Regions from separate parts of the Homo sapiens genome. Here region 1 is linked to region 2. The links are contacts of gene promoters, found by promoter capture Hi-C in blood cells and fetal thymus (Javierre and others, 2016). All regions are on one chromosome and are shown on one strand. Each heading gives the region's core, a stretch centred on a gene start or on the middle of the fragment in contact. The rest is flanking DNA. Distances are from core to core; before and after follow the strand shown. Region 1 overlaps RUVBL1 (RuvB like AAA ATPase 1). Region 2 holds the start of DNAJB8 (DnaJ heat shock protein family (Hsp40) member B8).

Region 1 (5,406 bases), core at 775-3,274, 370 kb before region 2:
CTCAACATGGGATCCTGAGGTATGGAGACCCCTCCTCAAAGCCTGAGGAGCTTCTAAACACAGAGGAATTTTTAGAGGTTCCCCTAACCTGTAAGAATCAAACAAAATCCTTTCATGGCAAGTATAAGCTCCGTGGGGCCTGCCCAGCCTCCTTTTCCAGCCCTATCTTTTTCCAACCCCTTGTTCCTTGATTAGCCACACAAGACTACCAGCCCTGCCCTGGACACCCCCAAGCTTTTTTATGACTCAATGCTTTTGAGTCTATTCCATCTGCCAGGAATGCCATTCTCCTTCCTAGAAGTTCCCAGTCATTAAAGTTCACGTCAAATGCCCTCTAGGGCGCATCTGACCCTAACCGGACTCAGGACTTCCTCCAAATGTTCCTGTGCCTTTGGGGACACATGGACTATAAGAGTAAGTATAAAGAGCAAGTATAAATATACCATGATTATATTGCTGTGCCTCCTCTCACTAGATTTGACCACAGGCTTGCATCAGCCTAGTCCTTACTTAACTTGGAGCTGATCATGGCTGACTCCATAACAGGTTCACCACTCACCTGCATCCTCCTGCGGGCTCCTAACAGTGCAGTCAGCAAGAGGAAGAGGCTGGTGTTTGGTCATTTATTCAGCATTTAGTGATCACCTGTTGGTTACCAGGCCCTGAGACACAGAAGGGCTCACTAAATGCTGAATAGCTAAAGGCAGCAAATGTTTCCTGTCTGGTCCTCAAAACTGCCTTGCCAAGTAGGAGGGAACTCAAAACCGAACCCCAAACCACAGAAAACCCAGAGACCCAAAGTGACAAATTAACCAAGCTGGTCAGTGATGGAGCAACACAGTTCCTGACTTCTGACTCCCAGCCCAGCACTCTTCTCAGGTCAAGGGCTCCCAGGAGGTCAGTTTGGGGATGGCCATTTCACCAACCAAGGGGACCTGTTGGTCCAAGATGAGTCTTCAGTAATCTCTTGACCAAAGCTCCAAGGAACAAAACACCCACGGATCAAATTTCAAGTCAGAAAACAAACTATTCCCTAATAGTGACTATTCACTATTTCCTAGAAATGTCATATAGTGATAACATCCTTTCCTGCACTTTACTAGCCAAGGCATAAGTATCCATCTGTATGAGAAGCAGACAACAGTACCAGCTCAAAGCTAAAACACTGTGGCTTTTGCTAAGCAGGGGGAAAGAAAGAGCTTTGTTAGGCTTTCTGAAATCCTGTAAAGGGCTCATAGAACACTCCTGCCCTCCTGCCATTAACACCCAGAAAATCCCAGGTGTGAGCCCACTGCTGGAGTGAAGCCATGGAGGAAGCTGGCTAGCTCAGGGCCAGAGGCTTGGCTGGGATAAGAAACAATACACATGAAATCATCTGTGACTAGAGCATTTGAATGGGAACAAAGGAGTCCCTCGTAGCTCATGTCGATGTTAATTGCTGAACATTACAGATAGAAAAGGACCGTCTACCTCAAGAAAGGCAGCAAGACTCTGACAATTCATTCCCAGATCTCCACACACATACAAAAGGGCTAATGTGCCAGATCACCCAGGCATCGAGGCAGTACCTGGGGCCGCGCATTAGCCACATCCAAGTCATGCAAGGTCACATCTTGGATGATTTCTTTCTTTTTGTGCACATCCCCTTTTGGCAAGGGGACATACTCTTCAGCTTCAAGGTCGAATTCTGTGGCATAGGTATCACACCTGCCCTGCCTCTGCAAAAAGAGAGAAACATGAGTGCCTGGTAAGTTTTCACTGCCAAGTCCCCAAATGGCACAGGGCTAAGTGAGATAAAGGTCTCAGTTCCCACTGCAGGCCTGACAGCCTACTTGACAAACTCCAAATATGCCCCACTCCCCTGCTGCCAAGAGAAGGGAGCTATCTGCTCATCGCTGGGCTCCAAAAACTGGGTTGAAAAACACCTGATACTTTCTCCCAAAATCCTTTTTCCCTTCTTTCTTTTAACTGTATGCAATTCCTGATAAAGGCCAAATCCAGTAGATTAACTGGAGGCAGAGGAGCTGCTCAGACTCTTTTGTAGGTGGATGATTTATTGTATGATATGAAGTATTATGCCCATCCATTAAACAGTGAGGAACACTGTACAGGACCCTGAAAATCAGATAGAAAAGAATGCCAACGAATGCAGCGTTCCTTCCCACATGCATATATCTTGGGAAGAAAATACCAAAGAGATAAAAGGAAGATTAAATACACTGCACATTTCAATTTGAAAGTGACTAAAGTTGTTTTGGTTTCTCACCCTGTCCTCCCCCTCTGAACAGGTTTTAGTATTTTTTCTAACAGACTATCTGTTTTAATCGCGAGAAGGTTAAAGAATGAAGATAAAGGGAAGGCAAACTTTATTATACATAAAGGGCCACTAGTTGACCTTCCATCAGCCTCATAACAGACACCAGCCCCTCCCCACACACCCCACACCCTCTGAAGAAAGCAACTCCCTTGTCACTTAGGTCTTCTCATGGCAAACAAATCAGGGACAATGCTGTGTCCCAAGGAAGGCATTACCTTCACGGCCCCACTGTTGGCTTCAATGTAAATCACATCTCCAGCTTCTACTCGCTCTTTCTGCAAACTTTCAAAAATGCTGGGGTCCAGCTAAAAAAAAAAATGTAAATCAGAAGTGTAATACATATTCCATTTCCTTCTGACACCATGTAAGGTACCTTTCCGTAAGGGATCTGAGGTAGCTAGCAGGTGCATGGAGAAAGCCTGTTTTGCGTTTGCATGAATACTGGGACCTGCAGGAGTGTGAATGCATAAGTACCACACAACAGACTGGCTGGGGGACTAAGCACACCAGGGAGAAAATAGGGGGGCCAGCATACCTGCATCCCTATGTAACGAGCATGAGAGGGACACAGGGGACACGTACTCTCCTCTTTCCCTTGATTCCAAAGGCTGTAAACTGGCAGCAGCGCTTTTATAAGGATGGTCCTGGCTGCCGTGAGACGGGTGGGCCCAGCCCCCACTGTCCACAGGACCACAGGCCCTATCACCCCTCTTGAAATCATCATCCCTACTTCACTCCTTCATTTGCCTCACCTCAGGTGGGGTGGAACTTTCCACAACTGAAGTACCTGCCAGCACCTGCTTACCAATCTCAAAGCTGGCATCTTGCAGGGCCTTTGATTTTGGATAAGGTTCTCAGTTCTAAGTTTCCTCATCTATACAACAGCACCCAGGTGCAATCACAGATGTATACAGTAATTCAAAGAAAAACATAAATGAGAATCTTTCCCAAGCCTTTTGACTCACATCCCAGTGTTTGTGCCCTTGGGTCTGCCTGCTTATATCTCCAGGAAAGGAAATAAGCAGATTTGCGGAACTGTTGCTTTTCTCCAGATTCTGGTGACCCTCAGTGATTAATATTCTAGGACAGCTGCCTTTGTAAGGATTCTATAGTTAAACACAAGTTTCTCGAGGTCTTCATGGAGATCTATGTTATACAATGTAGCTATGGTGGAAAAAAAACTTGGGCTTTGCCCAAACAAAATTAAAAAGTGAAAACCCAGGACTTGGTGAAAGAAGCCAGATACAAAAAAAGACATACACTGTATGTTCCATTTATATGAAATGTCCAAAAGAAGGCAACCGAAAGTAGATTAGTAGTTGCCGAGGGCTATAGTTGGAATGGGGAATGACTGTAAATGAGTAGGAGGATTCTTTTTGGGGCGATGAAAATGTTCTGAAATTAAGATTGTGGTGATTGTACAACTGTGAAAATAAATTAAAATTCCTGGAATTGTATACTTAAAATGGGTGAGTTTTATTTAAAATGCTATCTGAATAAAGCTTTTAAAAAACTACCACCACAGCAGCAAACCCAGGGTTCTGCCTCTCCTTAGCTGGGTGGGGACGGCAGACCCTGGCAGAACTGCTGTGAGTCTGTGCGCCTAAGGACAAAAGTGGGTGAGGCCCCCAGGTAAGGCCTGGCAGGAAGGGGTCATGAGTACTAATGGCATTCTCGTTGCTAGAACTCAGAAGACTCCTTCAGACTTGAATATCCACCAAGTATTTGAGCACCTTCTATCCAAATATCTTGTACATATTCTAAAAATACCTAAAAGTATTCATTTTGGAAGAAAAATTTCATCTTCTCCTCTACATTATTTTTGTAAAGAAACTGTACAAAGCAGTGTTACAAATAGCTGAAATTTAAACTGTACGCCTTATTTTATCTGTCCTACATTGGAGAATATACTTCTTTTTTGCCTCAAGCATTTTTATATCGGTTAATTTCCCAAATGAATTGACTGAAGATGTAATTACTGGAAAGGTGGCAGATGCTACTGAGAAATCTAATTAATTCAGAATGGAAGTGACGAGGGGTAGGTATAAAAGAGATATTTGCAGAGGCAAGTTCCTGAGATGGAAACCCTGTTAGGAAAAAGAAAAATGGCCCTTTGAAGAAGTGACATTTTTATGATCTCCATAAAGCAGTGACCAAGAAACAACCTCAGAGAATCAAAGAACCATAAAATCGTAGAACAGAATAAAAATGGAGAAATTATATGGTCAATCTCCTGCAGTTTATAGATGAGAAAACTGAGTCCCAGAGAGCTCAACTGACTTCCAAAGGTCACACAGCAAGCTGGTGGGCAGACAGTACAACGGTTAGGACTCAGAGGGTCAGCTCTGCCACATGACTGGCTGGATGATCCCAGGATAACCATGTAACCTCTTTATGAGCCTTCATCTGTTAACATGAGGAAAACTATACACACATACACACACGCAAACATATACACATATAAAGTTATGAATGACAATAAATGTTTGTTGAAGCACTTAGTCCAAGGCCTGACACATACAATAAATGAGAGCTATAATGATAATATTTATTAATAATAATAAGGCAAAGCCTAAAATCCAGACTGCTCCATTTCTCCAAGTGAAGGCTCTCACGATAACATTAACAGCTATCATTCATTAGGTAACTAGGTGCCACACCCAAAGCCATAACCCTGAAAGACAGGCAATTATTATTCCCATTCAACAAATAAAGAAACTACTACTCAGAGATTAATGCCACACAGTTGTAAGTAACAAAGCCAGGGATTCCTTAAGGACTTAGACTCCAAAACTCATGCTCTTCCCCTAGAAACTCTACTGCCTCCATCCTAAAGACTTACAGGACAGGTGGCTGAGGACTGTCTTTGAGCGCTATCCAGTGTCACCATTCTGGCCTCTCCACAAAGCCCTGTACTAAACAGAACCAGCCACTGAAGCGACCACAGGTTCCTGACACAAGCAACTGCAGTCAGGATTCTGCATGTGGCCCCTGGGAAGCCCATCCATCATCTTTATACAACTCTTATTTGATTACTCAATGCTGTTTCTTTCTATGAGCATGGGCACTGATAACTGGAAAAATTAATG
Region 2 (6,111 bases), core at 2,378-4,877:
AGAGGAGAGGGAACGTGGAGGCCAGGTGGGCGCAGGGGCCCAGCTGGTCAGATGGACGGGGGAGAAGTGGCCGGTGGTCTGGGGCCCTTCAGCAGGGGCCTGGCTGGACTCCGCAAGCTCTAGGCAAGATTCTGCCCAGGAGTTCACCTTTTCGTAGTACCAATTCTCAGGGACTGGAGGGGCCCCCACTGAGAGGAGTGGGGGGAGGGGAGGGACACTGCCGCTGTGGGGCCAGGCCAGAGTGGGCTGCCCTCCAGAGCTCCTTTTATGACGTCAGCTCCCGGGGCGGGGCATACCCCCGCCCCCAGCTCCTCACCAGGCAAACCTGGGCATATGGGCCTGCCCCTGCTGGTGAGGTGGCCACAACGGTGTGTGGGAATGGGATGCTCTGTGACCCAGGTGGTGTGGGCTGAGTCCCGGGAGCCAAAGGGCAGAGGCAGGATCAGCCACGGGATTCCAGCCTTGGTGAGTGACAAAGGTCTGTGGCCGTGGTGGGGGAGGCGGGCAAGGGCGTCCTGGGTATGTCCACTCGGCCGATGGCTGGGCAGCAGCTGAGGCAAGAGGAGGCCAAGGTGGGGTTCAGGCAGGCTGGGGTGGGGACAAGAGCCTGCTTTTTTTGTGCCCATTATCTGGCCAGGTCTTCCGGGGTAAGCTCCACAAAGGCGGGAAAGTCTGTCCCTGTCTAGGACAGTGGCTGGCACACGAGGGCCGTCGGTAAACTCTTGGATGAACCAGGCTCAGAGACACACAGTGCTCAAGGTCACACAGCGAGTCAGTGAGGGAGGGGATGTGAAACCAGGGCCAAGGCTGCAGCGGACAGCAAATCCAAAGAAGTGTTCCACTCAATTCTGGTAAGAAAAATAGGAATTGATGATAAATATTGATTACTGACTGTAGTGGGTTGAATGGTGGCCCCCAAAAAGATATGTTCCTATCCTAATCCTTGGAACCTCTGAATGTGAGCTTATTTGGAAAAAGGATCTTTTCGGATGTAATTAAATTAAGGATGTCGAGATGAGATCATCCTGGATTATCTGAGTGGGCCCTAAATCCAGTGACACATGTCCGTATAGGAGATGGACACTGACGCAGCTGGAAGCTGGGGGCCAGGAGGGTTCTCCCTGCAGCCTCCAGAGGGAGTGCGGCCCCACTAACACCTCGATTTCAGACCTCTGGCCTCCAGAACTGGGGGAAGAGATTTCTTTTGTATTGAGCTACCCAGTTTGTAATAATTTGTAACAGCCCTAGAAAACGAATCAGGTGAGTGAGGTAACCAAATATTCTTAGGCATTTATATTCCTTTAATTCTTGTTCTGGTGTTGGATCATATATAGAAACAGCAATTCACAATACTGATTAATATCTGTTCCTACCTTCACCTCACCCCACTCCAATTAAGATCAAAACCATGCTAAACCACCTACTAACCACACCAATAAAGAGCCTAGATGTTTGGGTCACCAAGTCTTAACTAAAGATAGCCTTCCTGCCTGCCTTCTTTCCTTCCTCCCTTCCTCCCTCCCTCCTTCCCTCCTTCTTTCCCTTCCCTTCCCTTCCGTTCCCTGCCTTCCTTCCCTCCTCCCTCCCTCCCTTCCCCCTCCTTCCTTCATTTCCTCCTTCCTTCCTTCCTTCCTTCCTCCCTTTCTCCTTCCTTCCTTCTTTCTTTCCTTCCTCCCTCCCCTTCCCCCTTCTCCCTTCCCTCCCTTCTTCACTCCTGGCTTCTTTCCTTCCTCCTTCCTTCCTTCATTCCTCCCTTCTTCCTCCTCTTCCTTTTTCTAGTCTTCATCCCTTTCTATTATCCTCCCTCTCTCTCTTTTCTTTCAGTGCTCATGGGTGCTAGGTTTCAGGCTCCTAGCAGGGGACAGTGTGTGTTCTAACCAATCCCAAATGCCAGGAGGAATGGAGACAGACTGTAGAGACACTTTGTAAACCCAGCCTCCAGTGACCATCGCTGTCCCTCCATGCAGCTTATCAAAAGCACGACTCGCACCCCCATGCTGGGCATCCACCCACCTACACCTGCTGACACATGTGGCTTAGCAGAGGAGTTGAAGAGCAGAACTTCTCCACTGGATGTAGCTACAGATGAACCTGATTCTTTATCTCTGTGGCTGGATTTTTGTCACTATGTCTCGGTTAGCAGTTAGCACCTGCTGTCCCTTGCAGGCTTGTTCCTGGGGCGGGAGAAAGATGCTTGCCCTGCACAGTTCTCCATGATGGCGGTGGCAGTGGGAGAGGCACTGCTGTTGACTGTGTTGCTGGTGGGGAGAGGCACGGTGGGTGTCCATGGAGATGGATAAGGTGTCATTATATAGTAGAGGTGACCATGGGAGCAGTGTTGATGTGGAGGTAATGGTCATGGTGGGTGTGAGGGGGAGAGTAATTATGGGTGATGGTGGAGTTGATCATGATGATGGTGATGCTGGTGGTGACAGCAGCAAGGCTTGTGCTTGAGAGTAATTGATGATGGTAGTGGTGGTGGTGATGGTCATGCCAGAGGAGATGGTAACAGCGAGCCTTTGTTGTGGTTGGCAGTGATGGTGCAGGTATGATGAGGAGGTGATGGGAATGGCTCCTAGTGAGCCATTGGTGTGGTTGGCAGTGGTGACAGTAATGGTGATGATGAAGGTGAAGGTGGTGGAGGTAGCAGAGGTTGTATCTTGTTCGGCTATACCACAGTGACAGCTTCCACCTCTCAGTGGCTCACGACAAACATCTAGTTCCCCCCACTTCACTCACTGGTGCCTACAGGCAGCTGCCAGGGCCCCACCTCCCATAGCTTCTCACTGTGGGTCCCAGGCTGGAGAATCAGCTCTGACCTGCACACCCCTCTCTCATGACAGTGCCACTCAGAGACAGCAGGAACTTGGGCTGCCTCTGAAAGCTTCTGTTGGGCCATGATGTGTGGCAGTCTTGCTGCATCCCATGGTCAAGGCCAGTATCCATGGGGCAAAGAATGTTTCCTTCAGGAAGGTTCTGCAAATCTCAGGGCAATAGGAAGAGAGGCCTGAGATTCCCATGGGGAAGAGGGAGTGAGCAGTTCTCCAACATATGCCAGATGCTCAAGATGGGACTGACAGCGGGGCTGGTAACGATGGCTCTGCTGGGAGCAGTGTTGGTGCTGCTGGTGCCGGGGACACCCGTGGTGGTGATGGGATAGGAGGCAGGAATTGTGCTATTAATGGAGGATGGTGGTGAGGGTGGTTGTGGAAGAGGCAATGGTAGAGGGGGGTGCCGAGGGGTGAGAAGGACACAGTGGTGGACATGCTGGTGTGAGTGCCGATGGCGATGGTGATGGCACTGAGGTGTGGGGCTCTGTATTTTCTGTTGCTAACTTGGCATTACACCAACCTCTTCCATGGTCTCCTTGCATCCTGGAGAAATCTGAGGGATTTTCCAGAATCCCATCACCGGTATAATTCCAGACTAGAGCCTGCCAATACAAGGGATTTGGAGAGTGGAAAAGAGAGGCCGTTGCAGGCAGGTGACAATGGTGAGCTTTGCAACAGCTCGGGGCAATCTTCTGCGAAGACCCTGCTTCTGAGCCACAGGCTGAGGCATGGATGGGGAGCTTCCTGGAATACCGTGAGCTCCTCAGCAGCTCCCAGGCAAGCTCTAGAGAGCCGCTCACCTGGGAGCTGCAGGTGAGCATCTCGATTCCTTGTTCCCTGACCGCTGGTCCCAGACTGTTCAGGGTGCAGCGTGTAGTAAATGTCCTCCTCCTTGGTACACATTTGAGGGCTGTGTACTGTGAGGGTGATGGCGGCTCAGATGAAGGTGGTGGTTGTGATGGAGTTGGGTGTGAGGATAGCAGAGAGAAAGCAGATGGTGACATCAGGAAGGCATTGGAGGGGCAGTGGTGGTGGCAGTGATGATGGTGGCAGTCTAATTAGAGGCAGTGGTGGGTCTGGCTGAGGCAGACCCGGTGGTGGTGATGGTGGTGGTAGTAGAGGGGGCAATGACGGTGGTGATGGCAAAGGCGGTGTGAGTGGTTGATACTGGTGGCAGAGCTGATAAGGTGATGTCACAGATGGGATGGTGGGTGGAGATGGAGGTGGAGGAAGTGTGGTGACAGTGATGTGGTGGTGACACAATGCTGACACGGGTGGAGAGCACCGTGGTGACGGTGACAGAGATGATAGTGATAGTGGGGCTGGTGGCAGTGGTAGAGGAGATGGGGATGGGACGCTGGGGTGTTGATGGTGATGGTGACACTGCTGAGGGTGTTGGTGGCCTGACATTGTAAAGGTGAAGCCTGAAGTTTCCATGACGATGGAATCAGGACAGTGGAGGAGGGGTGGTGAAAACAATGTTAAGAGACAAAGGACCTAGTATGATGAGGCATCCAAGAATCCTGTGGCCGCCTCCCCGTCCTGGCCCTCCCTGCCTTGTTGGAGACCCTGGCTCTGGTCTGCGTTGTACTCCCAGGGGAAATTTCTTCCAGCCACTGCCCTGCTCCAACCCTTGTTCCTGGGATGGGTCTGTGGGAGTCAGCCAGGATGGAGACAGGGCTGGAGACCCCCTCACTGCCGCCCATTCAGGGCTGTCTTAGGGCACACAGAACAGACCACTCGGTAGGACTTACGGGAACAGGTGTGTCACCTGGGAGCAGGTCCCACACCTCACCATCAAGGGCATCCTGAGATGGAGGCCCCTGTGGGGAGCTCCCCATGAAGGGAGCTGTGGACCGTGGAGCCGGGCAGTGTGCAGAGGAGTTTCCCTTCTGCAAAGGGTTCAGGCTAGTCTCCTTCCACGCCAGTTTTTGGGGAGCCAGTGGGGAGCATCAGGGGCTCTGAGGCCTCCATAGGGCCTGCTGGAGGGACAGGGACACACAGGCATGAGCGCACACTTAGGCCCCACACGCTCCACCGTCAATTCTGTCAGGCCACCTCCCCTCTTCAAGCCTCTCTGTCCTCATTCACCAGTGGGTGCTTTTGGGGATTTGCCCTCTCTGGGGAGCCAGCCTAGGCTTCCTGGCCTCAGATGTCCCATGTCCCTCATCTCAGGCCCACCCTAAAGCCAACCCCGAGCCATGGCCAGGGAGAGAAGGACCTTCAGCGACCAAGCGAGGCCCAGAGAGGGCAGGGCACACCGAAGGTCACACAGCAGTACCAGGAAGGTCTCCCCCGGGCGAGCTGATGGAGCCGATTAAGCAGCCAATTGGTATTCGGAGCAGCCAGAGGCCCCTCTCTGTCTCTGTAATTAATGGAGTGGCTTTTTAAAAGGATTCTAATCACCCCCGATCCTATCTGCTTATCACTAGAGTTCCTAATTAGATGATCCTGGCAGTCACTCAGCTAATTCCCTCCAGCCCCCTGCAGGCCTGCCTGGCCTGGGCAGCCCACCCCACCCCCGGCCACCCTGGCCCGGCCAGATGGGCAGTTTGGGGCCTTCTCTCCCCTCAGGGCCCCTGGTCCTCTAACTGCATTAGCTCCAGGATGGATGGGCGACAGCGATGGATGGATGGACGGGCGGCTGGATGGACAGAGTGGCAGGCGAATGAAGGGGCTGAACGGTGGGCAGTCACAGAGTGGATGGGCGGATGGACAGACAGACGGGCCAAGGGGCAGATCCCACAGTGGGGAAGAGCTCAGCCTGTCAGGTGACACAGCCTGGGTTCCAACCCCAGCACTGCCACTCCCCAGCCATGTGTCCTTGGGGAAGTCAATAACCTGGCTGTGCCCCAGTGTCCTCATCTCATCTGTAAAAGGGAAGTAATGATGGTCCCCTCTCACAGGGTTACTGTGAGGAGCTCAGAATGGAGAAGGAGCTGTGTGTGCGTGTGCTGGCATCCTGGCAGTGTCGATAATGGGTGGGCAGAGACAGATGAAAGGGCAGCCTGCCTGGTGAGCCAGTGGAAGCCATGGTAGGCAGACAGGCCCATGGCAGGCTTACATGCAGATTGGTGGCCCATGGGGTGGGAAGGCGGTGGGCTACGCAACCGTAGAAGGGCCAGTGAGCTCACGTCCTCCCCAGTGGTGCCAGGGCGATCTCAGCTCTGCTCTCAGACCTCTTCAGGCAGCCTTCCTGCCCAGTCCTCCAAGCCAGTGATGACAGGTGCCCACTGGGTTGCCCAGATCCCTTCCCTGCCATCCCAACCCAGGTACATCC

What was found. The method cuts DNA at HindIII sites, captures the fragments that hold promoters and counts their contacts. A CHiCAGO score of 5 or more calls a contact.
Region 1: a fragment that was not itself captured here is called in contact with the fragment with the promoter of DNAJB8 in region 2 in 3 of 17 cell types (erythroblasts, non-activated CD4 T cells and megakaryocytes); the score reaches 6.1 in erythroblasts.

Annotation. Positions count from the first base shown.
Region 1 is chr3:128,099,027-128,104,432 of GRCh38, forward strand. RUVBL1 (RuvB like AAA ATPase 1) reads right to left here. Exons shown (of 11, transcript NM_003707.3): 5 at 2,533-2,622; 6 at 1,569-1,718. Among named protein-coding and RNA genes, the nearest start is that of RUVBL1, 22 kb to the right of the region's middle. RefSeq lists an enhancer at 1,186-1,705. The HindIII fragment of the contact is 3,585 bases long and covers 233-3,817 here.
Region 2 is chr3:128,463,263-128,469,373 of GRCh38, forward strand. It overlaps DNAJB8 (DnaJ heat shock protein family (Hsp40) member B8), which reads right to left and starts at 3,628. Exons shown (of 3, transcript NM_153330.6): 1 at 3,352-3,628; 2 at 2,014-2,174; 3 at 1-848. DNAJB8-AS1 (DNAJB8 antisense RNA 1) reads left to right here and starts at 332. Exons shown (of 3, transcript NR_037890.1): 1 at 332-465; 2 at 638-851. The HindIII fragment of the contact is 7,883 bases long and covers 2,883-6,111 here.